Regions from separate parts of the Homo sapiens genome. Here region 2 is linked to region 1. Evidence: promoter capture Hi-C in human tissues and cell types (Jung and others, 2019). All regions are on one chromosome and are shown on one strand. Each heading gives the region's core, a stretch centred on a gene start or on the middle of the fragment in contact. The rest is flanking DNA. Distances are from core to core; before and after follow the strand shown. Region 1 holds the start of OR5B21 (olfactory receptor family 5 subfamily B member 21). Region 2 has its middle 90 kb from the start of OR9Q1.

Evidence for each region. Contacts are between HindIII fragments. The study calls those that stand out against the background at their distance.
Region 2: a contact is called between a fragment that was not itself captured here and the fragment with the promoter of OR5B21 in region 1, in 1 of the 25 tissues and cell types used here (H1 embryonic stem cells).

What each region holds. Positions count from the first base shown.
Region 1 is chr11:58,504,630-58,511,071 of GRCh38, forward strand. OR5B21 (olfactory receptor family 5 subfamily B member 21) reads right to left here and starts at 3,476. Exons shown (of 1, transcript NM_001005218.3): 1 at 2,178-3,476. The coding sequence starts at 3,476. The coding sequence ends at 2,547. LOC105369313 (a long non-coding RNA gene) reads right to left here. Exons shown (of 5, transcript XR_007062673.1): 3 at 840-913. The HindIII fragment of the contact is 9,451 bases long and covers 750-6,442 here.
Region 2 is chr11:57,930,800-57,937,241 of GRCh38, forward strand. No RefSeq gene overlaps it. Among named protein-coding and RNA genes, the nearest start is that of OR9Q1, 90 kb to the right of the region's middle. The HindIII fragment of the contact is 6,478 bases long and covers 353-6,442 here.

The DNA.
Region 1 (6,442 bases), core at 2,226-4,725:
CTATTTTTGCTCAGGCAGCTCAAGAGCCAAAATAAGAAGTCCAGGGAGAGCTAAGTGAAGAAAGAGCTAGTATAGAAATCTCAATGGTATGAAATACACATTCATTATGATGGGCACATTCACATACTTAATTTCATATTACCCTCACACTTTATCCTGTATATTGGGTTCAGTAAGACTAAATGACTTTCTTGAGGTCACACAATTGATAAGAACAGTTAGAATTTTCATCCAGCTTTTGATAGTACTCTTTTATACCTATTTACAGTCAGATAGAACACTTGTTTGAGGTGATTTCAACATAAAATATAAATATGTAGACATTGAGCCCTTAAATCTCAGGAGGCCCACATTTTCCTGCCTAAACTGAGGTATAGAGGCATAACAAAATATGTCCATAAGAATGATAAAATGGACTTTGGGGTCTCGATGGGGGAAGGTTGGGAGGGAGGTGAGGAATAAAAGACTATATATTGGGCACACTGCTCGGGTGATGGGCACATTAAAATCTCAGAAACCACCACTAAAGGACTTATCCATGTAACCAAAAACAACCTGTACCCCCAAAACTAATGAAATAAAAATTAAAACCATAAAAGAAATAAACATGCCCAGATACACATCTTAATATATACTGTAATGGTTATGATATATAGACTCTAGACTTTAATTTTTTTATAGAAATCTAAATGGCCTAGTGGTGAGGAAAGTTCCTGCTTGGGCTGGGCATAGAAAGAAGTTGGGAAAGAAAAAGAGGAGAAGGATAAAATGAAGTAAAGAAGGAGGAGCAGGATGAGGAGGGAAAAAAGTCAATTATATCAAGTAGGGAAAATGTGTACCTGAGATTGGAATGCACCCAGTGCTTGGATAGCTGCTTCCCAGGCTCTTCTCCAAATGCAGATACTCTTGAGCTCTGTAGATTTCAATGAGAAAGATTCCTATATGCAGTGGATCCTGGCCTGTAAAGGCTGTTCTTCCTGTGTGTTGCTGAATAGGCCTCATTGCTAAAGAAGAGGGGAGGGAGGGGGCTGAATGGGGGAGGTATAGGTTGTCTAGGCCTTGGGCTCAGAAGCTCCTGATCTTTTCAGGTGATGGCAACCATGTGCCAGAGAAAGCTATTCTCATGTTTCTCATGTTCCATAACTCCTTCTTTGCAATTTTTCCCAGAAGACTTATGATTTATCCTCCTCAGACAGAGGCTGCCCTGTACATAATGGAGCTTGATAATCTGAAAACTAAATTGACATTTTAAGCCAACTGAGTTAGCCAACCAAGATTTCTGGTTTTCATCTATAAGGTCAAAATTAATTTGTTGGGTTTTTTGGGGAGATTTTGAAATCATGATCTATTGTGGTGACTTAGATTAACTGTAGTTATAAACACCATCAAGGAGTTGATACGTGAGAAGTGAAATTAATCACCACTCCCTTCCCACACACACACATTTGCTCACACCATCTAGCACATGAAACAAGACCTGAAGGTGTACTAGCACTGTGCGTCACCGTGCTGTTCCTAAGAAGTAAATTTCCAGGCAGGCTTTTTTATTCTTGTAGCATCTAATTACAGAACACCGGAATGCAATGGAGACCCAGAGGTGAGCTGAATTATTGAAAAAGTAAAAGCAAAGACAGTCCAGAAAGCTATTATATATCTTCATAATAGATTCACCAAACTTAAGGGTGCTAAGAAATGCAAGCATTTAATTCAGAAAACAAATATATTTTTTCATAGCTCTAGGGAAAACTGCTTTTTTTCTCTAAACCTTCTGGAAGTTTTGGTAATTATGTTAGACAGAGACAAGAAACATAAAAGATAGTGTAGGCTCTCCGAAGGAAGTTGTATTTAGTCAGGTTAAAGTTGAAGTAATTCATCTATTAAAGCATTCCCATATTTCTGTATATAACAAGGTGTAATGTTTCCCCAATGATTTAGCAAAAGGGAATGGAAATTACAAAGGCACATGACTAGTGAGTAGGATAGGAATGTGGGTAGAGAAGGGAGAGTAAGGGGTTGGAAAGATTTAATCGTCAGCTACCTGACTCGATCTAGTGCCTTGTCCTTTAAATTACAACTTTCTCTCAAATATCATTTAAAATATTGAAACATCCTTTGTCTACCTCAGAAAGTCCAACTTTCAAACTCGCAGAACAAAAGAATAAAAAAGATACTGTGTGTTCAGTTGATAAAAATGAAGGTGAAATCTTTACACCAAGTTTAATAGTGAATGAAAAATTCTTACAATTAAAAACAGGATGAGGAAAATTTGGTACATTCATTTGTATGCTTCAATCTTCTGCTTTAAACCACGTCAAGAAACTAAAGCAAGAAAAGCTTAACTGTCCCATGTTGTTGTTCACTAAATATAAGATTATCTTTCTAAGTAAGACTTTCAACGTGCTGCTTTTTACATCTTCTAATAGCAGAAGTAACCGCTGTTCTTGGGGAAGAAAGAACTGAAACCAGTCAAACGTTAAAAGTCATGATGGCATTTAGGTGTGAGAGAAAGTTTATCCCTTAATTGCTTGCCTACTTCCCATTCACATTTAATATTGGGGGTAAAGTTTGTTGAGTATTTTCCAGAGAGCACTTTTCACTTCTTTGTTCCTAAGGCTGTATATCAAGGGATTCAGCATGGGAATCACCACTGTGTAAAACACAGAGGCTATTTTGTCTGTGTCCACGGACTGGCTGGAGTTGGGCTGTAAGTACATGAAGATGATTGTGCCATAGAAGATGGACAAAGCAGTGAGATGGGAAGCACAGGTGGAGAAGACTTTCTTCTGCCCTTCAGCAGAATGCATCCTCTGAATGGTGATGCATATGAAGAAGTAAGAAATAAGGATGACCAGGAGGGTGAAAAAGACGTTGAAGCCTGCCACAAAGACCACCAACTTGCTGATGCGTGTGTCAGAGCATGAGAGAGCCAGGAGTGGGGGAATGTCACAGAAGAAATGATTAATCTCATTAGAACCACAGAAGGAGAGTCTGAAGGTGCCTGCTGCATGGATAGAGGCATTGAGGAAGCCAGAGACATAGGAACCAGTAGCAAGGAGGGCACACACACCTGCTGTCATGGTGGTGGTGTAATGAAGAGGCCTACATACCGCTGCATGGCGATCATAGGCCATGGAGGCCAGGAGGTAGCACTCAACAGTGGCAAACCCCACAAAGAAGAAGAACTGAGCTGCACATCCATCGTAGGAGATGGCCTTGTCCCCTGACCGCAATGCAGCCACCGTTTTGGGGGCTACAGCTGATGAGTAACCCAAGTCTACAAGGGAGAGGTTACTGAGGAAAAAGTACATTGGAGTGTGGAGATGGGAGTCTGAGTGGATGATCACCATCATTCCCCCATTCCCAAGCAGGGTGATGAGGTAGATGAATAAAAATGCCAGGAGGAGGGGTATCTGAAGATTGGGGTCATCTGTTAATCCCAAGAGGATAAACTCTGTCACTTCTGTGCTATTCTCCATTGTGGCCAGCTTGAATTAGCCTGGTGATTAAAGAAGAGGCGTCAACAAAATTCCAATGAAAGTATGAGAAGGGAGGATGGAATGATAAAAAAGGAGAAAACTAATGTATAGAGAGAATGTACTGTGTGTAACACTCATCCTAGAACCCTCTGTTATATTATAGCTTTTAATTCATATGAGATAGGTGCTATTATGCCCATCTTACAGATAAGGAAGTTAAGGCTCAGGGAGCTGAATATTGAGCAAGATAGCCTATCTAGGGGTCAGAATCAAAGTTCACCCCTTTATATTTCTGAATCTAAAGTTCATACATTCATCTTGAATTCTTTAACACATTTACATCATATAAATACAAATTATGATGTGGATATAAGATTGTATGTATTTAATTATTAAAAATAAAAACATCCATCACTTATTGTCTTCCACATTCTACTTCCAATAATATAGCCTCACTAAAGATTTTCTAAATTTATTTTTCCTTAAAACAACACAAGTTTATTCTCTCAAAATTCTGGAGGCCAGAAGCCTCAAATCAGTTTCACTGGGCCAAAATCAAGGTGTTGGCAGGACAAGGTGGTGCCCTCAAGGTCTGTTTGATACTAAATCCAAAGATCTTAACCACAACTTTTGAAGCCTTTATAAATTAATCCCTCAACAGTAGTTCAACTGAAAGGGAGTATGGTATATGTAAATATGAGTATGTATTTATATATATTTAATATAAAACTATAAATTTGATATATACAAATGGCTTTGTGTATCTGTGTATATGCATATGTCTTTTTTCACCCCTTATCAGAAGTCTTTGCTGTAGACCCTAATTCCAGTTAAGTCCTCCTTTCTCTCCCTCCTCAAAGCACTTGAGTCTTGGCTGATTATTGCACAATTAGCTGGGCAACCACTCACTCTTCACCTAGCTCTAAGCCCCTTGGGACAGTAACTATCTTCATCCCCTCTGGTCCACTCTCCTTACCATGGCCCCTCACACATGTATGTAAATATTTGGTGAATCAAACAGAACATCAATAGGAAAGTATGGAAATATTTTTCATGCTCTTTAATCCCACAACAAACATCCTATCATCCTCTTGTCTACCAGGTTTGTGCTTTGGGCCAAAATATTAGCTTAGACTTGTCATATGAAAAATATTCAGGAGTAACAGTGAGTTTGCAGATGGTCAGGCCTGGAGACAGGTTTCTGTCCTCATTTTAGAGCATTCTTTCTCTCCTATTTTTGTTCCTCAACCTGAGGTGTTCACAGGCTTTCCCCACTCCTAGTAGCAGAGTGAGTGGGAGCAGACTCAGAAGAAGTGAGGGAGAAAATGTGAGAAGAGAGGAGGAAAAAGGAGAAAACAGGAATTAAAGGAGAAAAATGCTTCAGCTCTGCTGGACTTTAGCTTACCTTGAAGAGTAACAGCAGCAATTTGATTGGTGACACAAAAAGAAGGGGATAGTGTAGCTTGTCCTTTTTGGATGACCATCACACACACACGATGTGGCTAGTTTCATAAGAACTGGCTCAGTCAGCTTGGTACATTACTATCCAGTAATGTACTAATTGACTTTCTGACCAGCATCACTTTCTATTATATTTATCCAGCCTTTTTTAACTTGTTTTTCTTTTGACTTTTGACATGTGTGTATACTCTCAAATTTAGCAAACACAATATCCTGTAATCTATGACAGGCAGTGTTCTGATCTTACATATTTGGAAACAGAAGGATGTGGTGCCCCTCAAGGTCACATAACTGCTTAACTGTAAAATCTGTACAATTCCAGAGCCTGGTTTTTCAGCCTCAGCACTACTGACATTATGAGCTGGACAGTTCTTTGGTGCAGGGTGTGGTGGGGGAGAGGGAGTGCTGTCCTGTGCATTGTAAGATATTCAGCAGTTTCCCTGGCCTCTCTCTAATCACTAGATTCCAGTAACACCACCACCTCCCATTTGTAACAGTCAAAAATGTCTCCAGACGTGGCCAAATGTCCCCTGAAGGGTAACATTCCCCTGATTGAGAACCACTGTTCTAGAGCTTTTAAAAAACAGTGGTTCTAAAGTTTATAAAACTCTTTTTGCATTCACTTCTTAATTTAATTATTGCATGACTAGATAGAGAGAGAGAGAGATAGCAGATATAGACATGAAGAAACCGAGGCTCAGTGAGGTGAAGTGACTGGTTTAAAGTCTAGAACTCTGGCCAAATATTGCTGCTTATTGGTAGAGGGATCCCAGGAAGGGATAACTGCTTGCTAAGTACGTGGTCCTTTGACCAAAGAGATACCAGTCCTCCCATATTGTAAACCAACCTTTTCCTAGACACAAGGTAGGATGAAAACCTGGAAAAATTCCAAGAATAAAATGCAGCTGACTTAGGGTGGATTCTGAATTATTTTCCAAAATACCTTCTGAAATGCTTATTAGATCAATCTCCTTGGTTAATATTGACCACAGGAGTCTATTCACTTAAGCTGTACGTTCAGTTTTTAAAAGCCATTACACCCACCCCCCCGCCCCCGCCATATTGAACTGTCCCTGACTGCCATGTTCCTCTACCGGCAATTAATATTCAAGGTACTTTCTGTGTTCCGTTAATGGGCAACCCTTCCGTTTATGCATTGCAGTCTCTGTTAATAAATGTGTTGAGATCCAGAGCAGCAAGGAGAAATCTGGAGTCAGTGCAGAGAGAAAAGGCCTCATTTACCCAGCACCAAGCCTGGGAGGCTGCAAGGCCTGAATCCAAATCCTGCTGCTGCTGCTGTATCTCCTCCCACTCAAGTCCTGTAAAACCCAGGCTTTTCTGCATGGACCTAAAATAAATATCGGAAGGAGTCTTGAAAGAGAAAAAATATTTTTAAAATATCTACGGTTGAATACTGAAATATCTAAGGTTAAAATATTAAGTCAAAACCTGAAAAAGCATTAAAATTTAAGGAATTATTATTGTTATAAAGAGAGAAGGAGAAG
Region 2 (6,442 bases), core at 2,342-4,841, 570 kb before region 1:
GAGACGGGATTTTGCCATGTTGGCCAGGCTGGTCTCAAACTCCTGGCCTCCAGTGATTGGCCCACCTTGGACTCCCAAAGTGCTGGGATTACAGGCATGAGCCATCACACCCAGCCAGGAATCTTCTCAATTTTATGTCACTATATCCCCAGTGCCTAGAACACAGCATGGCAAATAGTGAGCCTGAGCCACTGCGCCCAGCCCATTTAATCCTCTCTACCATCTTATGGGAGGTACTATTGATATCTCCATGTTGATTAGAGGAAGTCAAGACAAAAGGAAGCCAAGTAACTTGCCCAAAGACACAGCTAATAAGAGGCAGAGCTGGGGATTGAATTAAGGTGGTCAGGTTCTAGAGTCCAAACTTTTATCTAGTCCCCTAGACCATGTTAAAGAATTTGTTTTTTTTGGGCCGGCACAGTGGCTCACACCTTTAATCCCAGCACTTTGGGAGGCTGAGGTGGGCAGATCACCTGAGGTCAGGAGTTCGAGACCAGCCTGGCCAACATGGCAAAAACCCATCTCTACTAAAAATAAAAAATTAGCTGGGCGTAATGGAGGGCACCTGTAATCCTAGCTACTTGGGAGGCTGAGGCAGGATAATTGCTTGAACCCGGGAGGCAGAGGTTGCAGTGAGCTGATATTGCACCATTGCACTCCAGCCTGGGCAACAGAGCGAGATTCTGTCTCAAAAAAAAATTTTTTTTTAATGGGATACCATTACATAATTTTCACCAGGAAGGTGACATGGTCATATTTGCTTTTTGACAAGATCACTCTGAATGCAGTTGTAGAGAAATGATTGGAGGAGGGTCAATGGATGGGCAAGATTGTTGAGAGGATATTGAAGTCATCCAGGTGGGAGTTACAGCTTAAACTAGAGTGTGGGATATAGCTAGGGATAAATGAATCTGAGAGATGTTTGGATTTGGTGATGGACTGAAGATGTCAGTGTGAGGAGGAGAGCAGACTCAGGTTGGATTCTGAGGTCTCGGATATATACAATAGAACTGGCAGTTGAAGCTAAGAGAGATTAAGATGTGCCAGGGAGAGCGTGAGCTGTGAAATACAAGAGGCCCCAGGACAGATTCCCAAGGAAATTAATTTCCTATTTACTTCATGCTGCTTCTCGGTTCTAAGCTCTGATTTTTTTTTTTTTTTTCCCATTTGCCTGGGAATTTTGAGGAACTTTGGGCCTGACTTGTGAGGAAGGAGGATAAAGGAGTCTGAGCTCTTATTAGTGATAGGATCCCACCCCCAGCCCACTTACCTGTGGTTGAACAGAGACCATCCACCCATGAGCTTTGTGTTGGAGACCTCTTGACGGGGGTGGTGGCTGTGTGTTCTTTCTCTCCTTTTTTCATCTGTTGCTTCTGGCCAGCTTTCTCAGGAGCACTTTTCAGCCAGTTGTAAGTAACAAAGCTTTGAGAGTACTTTTTGCTGGGAAGACTCCTGTCTTAAGATTCAACTGGCTTTAATTCTGACTCTCAGAGTTGAGGAATGTGCCTGCGGGAATGTGCCAGTGGGAATTTTTGATGAGATCTCTCAGAGGCTGACCCAGCACTGCAAGTTTTCTCCAAGGAATGGCAGAGAGATCTTGCTTGGTGAGGGTGTCTGGGAACCCCTGAGGAGCAGGGATTCTCCACCAAATATGAGGCTAGATGTTCTTCACTTATAGTGTCCATCCCTTATGGGCTTCTATTTTCAGTTTAATGAACCTCAAAAGGCTCTGCAGACCAAGTGGTACACAGGGACACATGTCAACATAATCTCCAGGTCTCGCAGAAAGTGATTGAAAATGCTGGTGATGTCAATCATCAATACTTGTGTGTATTTGAACACATAGGTGTGGAGCTCTCAAATGTTATTTTCTTTGATCATCTGAATGTCCCTGGGAAACGTGCTTGGTAGTATTTTTTTGGAGATATCTGTGTGTATACACACACACACACACACACACACACACACACACATGATTATACCATAATTGCTTCATTCACTTAACAATATTGAAAACGCATCTCTCCATCTCAAAAAAATCATTTCCCATCCTCTCCAAATAGCTCTATTGTCTTTGTAAAAGTAACACATGCTAGTTGTAAAAAAAAAATTAAAGAAGATGGAAGAGAACCAAAAAGGAAGTAAAATGTCACCTGAAATCCCACCACCACAGATAATGGGAGTCGATTATTGTTACTTTAGACATAAATATCTCAGTGTGTTCATGACTGTAATTTTCCATACACAGATTCATACTATACAAGCTATTCTGCCATTGACCTTCTCACTCAGCAAGATGTCATGAACATTTTCCCATATCAATAAATAGTAGCCTACATCATCATATTTAATGGATGCATATTATTTTATTGTTGTATGTGTATCATTATTTACTTAACTGGTCCCCATCGATTGACAATAAGGTATTTCCAACTTTTCACTGTTATGGATAGCTCTCTGATAGACACCTCCTGAGAGGAGGTATGGGGCCTGGAGTGCCAAGTCCAGTGAGAACATGATGTAGACAGACTGCTTTTCCCAGGTAGGTAGGAAGAGACTGTTCTCTCCTTGGGATCCTGGCACTTTGGGTGTTCACAGCCCTAGGGAAAATCACCAGGCAAAGAAAAGGGCCTTGTTAGGCAAATAACTTGTTTGTGTAAAAGAGATGCAGTCCCTACACTACTGATCTGGGAGGAAGTCTCAACAGAAGAGGGACTGGATTGCCCATGTTTCCTGCAGGTAAGAGGTATTCACTTGGGAAAGACCCGCGGAATCTCACCTGGAGAGGTAAAGCAGTGCTGTGTCCTCCGACCTTCCTCACTGCATTCCAACCTGTACAAGTTGTCTGGTTCCCAAAAAAATTGGCCCCTTCATTGTGTCAATTGTCTTCTCATGAACATGCAACAACCTTTCAGCCTTTTTGTGGTAGAGTTTATGATGATGCCTAAGAGTCAATGTTCCTCCCTGCAGCTCTTGGATAAGAAGGGTTATACAGTCTCTTTCTTCATTTAAATTAAGCTTGGCCACATGATTGGGTTTGGCTCAGGGAGTATGAATGGAAGTAATTTGTGCCACTTCTGAGTATTGAAGCCTTAGGAGCCAACCTCTGGTTCCCCACTTCCCTTCTTTCCCTTCTGCTTTGACACCAGTGAAGTCCAAGGCATAGGTATTCTCTTACATCCTTTTGAGTCTTGGAGTGAAAAGCAGAAAGTTCATCACTGACTTATGGATGGACATTAACATGAGCAAGAAATAAACTTTTTTGCTACTGCAAGGCAATGAGATTTGGGTGTTGTTTTTTAATACAGCGGCCTCCGTTGCCTGAAGTATTCTTCAAAGACAAACTTCTTTTTTAAATTATGACACCAGCTCTATCGTGACTATCAGATTGTCTATGCCTGTCAGTTAGAGTCCTTCCTGTCTCCCCTGTGGAACAGCTTCCTTGCACTTACTGAGTCTGCATCTAGCTAATTGACCTATGGCAGTCATTTTGTTTTTAAATATGAGAAGGTTCTAGTTGTTAGTGGCAGGTCCTATATGAACCCATTCTTGCAAACCCGATAGATAGTTGTTATGTTGCCATGAAAGTCTTGGATCACAATCTTCCCAGCTTACAAGTTCTTCCAAACAAACTTAATCGTTAGTAAGCAAGCATAGGCAGTCAACACACCTGTCTGTCATTAGGGGGTAGTTATTTTCTTTTCCCTTGGGTATACTGGCCAGCAAATCTTTCATGAAAAGCTCACTTGGAAGTGAAATGTTGATGTTTTACCATCAACATTTTACTGGCAGGATCCTCTAGGAAATAGAAAGATGCAGAACCAAAGGGCAGTGCATTTGTGGTAGACGGGAAAGACAATATGCTATGAGCTTTTAGAGCTTGCTTGTGTATGGCATTGTGATCATTCTATTCTGAGTAGTGTGGGTCCATGATCTTAGATGACAGGCTCTTGAAGGAAAAAGGAAAACCCATCTAAAGGCTACATCAGCAGCCAAATGGATGTCCTTTATTGTCTTTGCAATTTTTTTTTTGTTTGTTTGAGACAGTCTCGCTCTGTCACCCAGGCTGGAGTGCAGTGGCATGATCTCGGCTCACTGCAACCTCTGCCTCCTGGGTTCAAGTGATTTTCCTGTCTCAGCCTCCTGAGTAGCTGGGACTACAGGTGCATGCCACCACACCCAGCTGATTTTTGTATTTTTAGTAGAGATGGGGTTTCACTATATTGGTCGGGCTGGTCTCGAACTCCTGACCTCAGGTGATCCACCTGCCTCAGTCTCCCAAAATGCTGGGATTACAGGCATGAGCCTCCGTGCCTGGCATCTTTGCATCTTTTTGATAAGGGCTAGATTTACATTGGTGGGGTGAAGTCAAATAACCCAGAAAGCTGGAGTTGGAATAACTCTTGAGGAACATCTAGCTCAAAATGTCTGGGAGTGGGAAAAGAGGCCCAGAGAGGGGAAGGTGCTTGTCAAAAGTTATACACAGCCAGTGAAATCTGGGGCTGCAGACCTGGTCTTGACTAAATTTAAAAAAATCCTAAAATTTCTTGACATTACCATAGTAGTTTATTACTGTTCTCAGTTCTACTGGATGTTTTGTATCATTTTTGGGGGATACTGACCGTCTTAGTCCATTTTGCATTGTTAAACAGAATATCAACCTTTGGACATTTATAAAGGAAAGAAATTTATTTTTCACATTTCTGGAGGTTGGGAAGTCCAAGGTCCAGGGGACCACATCAAGTGAGGACCCTCTTGCTGAGTCATGACATGTGGTGAGAGAGAGCAGGAGGGAGAGCAAGAGATCAAACTCATGGCCTCTAACCCTTTCATAACTGGTATTAATTCATTCATGAGGGTGGAACATAAACACCTCCTGTTAGTCCCCTCCTCCCGACATTGTTGCATTGCGGATTCAATTTCCAACACATGCTTTTTGGGGGACACATTCAGACCATAGCACTGATTATTCCTGAACCATTCGGGGCATGGATAGGTTCTCTATCTATGGCAGTGAACTCTTCTCCAGCTGAAATGATTTCCCTGTTGCTCACTCTGTGGGACAGAGTTGTAGAAATATTCAGGATTATAACCAGGCAGAGTGTCACTAGTGAGAGGAACAGAAGTTTGTTTCCATAGGAACAGTATAGTGGTTTTTAGAAATGATAAAATGAACTTGAGAATTGAGGTCATCTATGTCCACATACCTTAACTATTGGGACTGATAACTGAGACTTACTGTGGCAATATGACTTAACTAATTGTTACAGGAAATTAAGGCCTGGGAAGATATGGCTGTAAACCAATAAATCACTGTTGGCTTTTATCTGAACAATTTATACGAACAAATAGTTTACTCCTCTGGGCCAACAGCTCTCCTATCAGGACAATAGATTACTCATCTGGACAAACAATTTGCTCAACAAACAATGGTTTTTTATTAATATTTGCTTCCAGGCACTTCCCTTCCTGTGCCTGTCAATCCTAAACTATAATGTCACAAACTTTGTCCAATCCTGTTACCTACCTTGAAAGAGTGACCTTGTATCACTTGAGTCAAGACCCCCAAGTCCTATAAATATAGGACTTTTGAGAAAATACTGGGATTTCATCCAGGTGATATTTTTTCTTTCTACAGTAGGTCTAATCAATGTAGCTTTTGCTGGTCAATAGGTTTTCTGGTGGTGTTTTGAAGAGCTACCAGCTGTCAATCTACTCTTTCCCCAGGGTTACTTGAGGGCATTTTACATCCCATTTTTTTTTTTCCTGAGGGCATTTTGTTTCCTTTTTGGGCCATCTTTATTTCTCTAATGGTGATGATTAGAGTTGCCTTTATGAATGTAGTTTAGCTCATCAGTATATAGGGTCACTGATACTCCTAAGAGGGTTCATATAGTATGTCAATGTCAGTCTGAAAAGGCATCCTACATAGATCAGCTTTTCTAACTTCCTCATTTTGCACAAGGAAAAATTGAGGTTCTGGGACAAATCTCTTTCTGATTTTGGGGACAATGTTCAAGTTGGATACTTCAAGCAACATCATTTCTTCTCCGAGCCCCTATTTTTTTTTTTTTTTTTTTTGAAACAGAGTCTTGCTCTGTTACCCAAGTTGGAGGGCAGTGGTCTAAACTCGGCTCACTGCAGACTCCATCTCCCCAGCCTCAAGTGATCCTCCCACTACTTCTTCTTCTTTTTTTTGAGACAGGGTCTCATACTGTCGCCCTGGGTGGAGTACAATGGCGACACTGCAACCTCCACCTCCTGGGTTCAAGCGATTCTCCCACCTCAGCCTCCCAAGTAGCTGGAACTACAGGGAACAGACACCACACCCAGCTAATTTTTGTATTGTTTGGTAGAGGCCAGGTTTCACCATGTTGGCCAGGCTGGTCTTGAACTCCTGACCTCAAGTGATCCACCTGCCTTGGCCTCCCAAAGTGCTGCT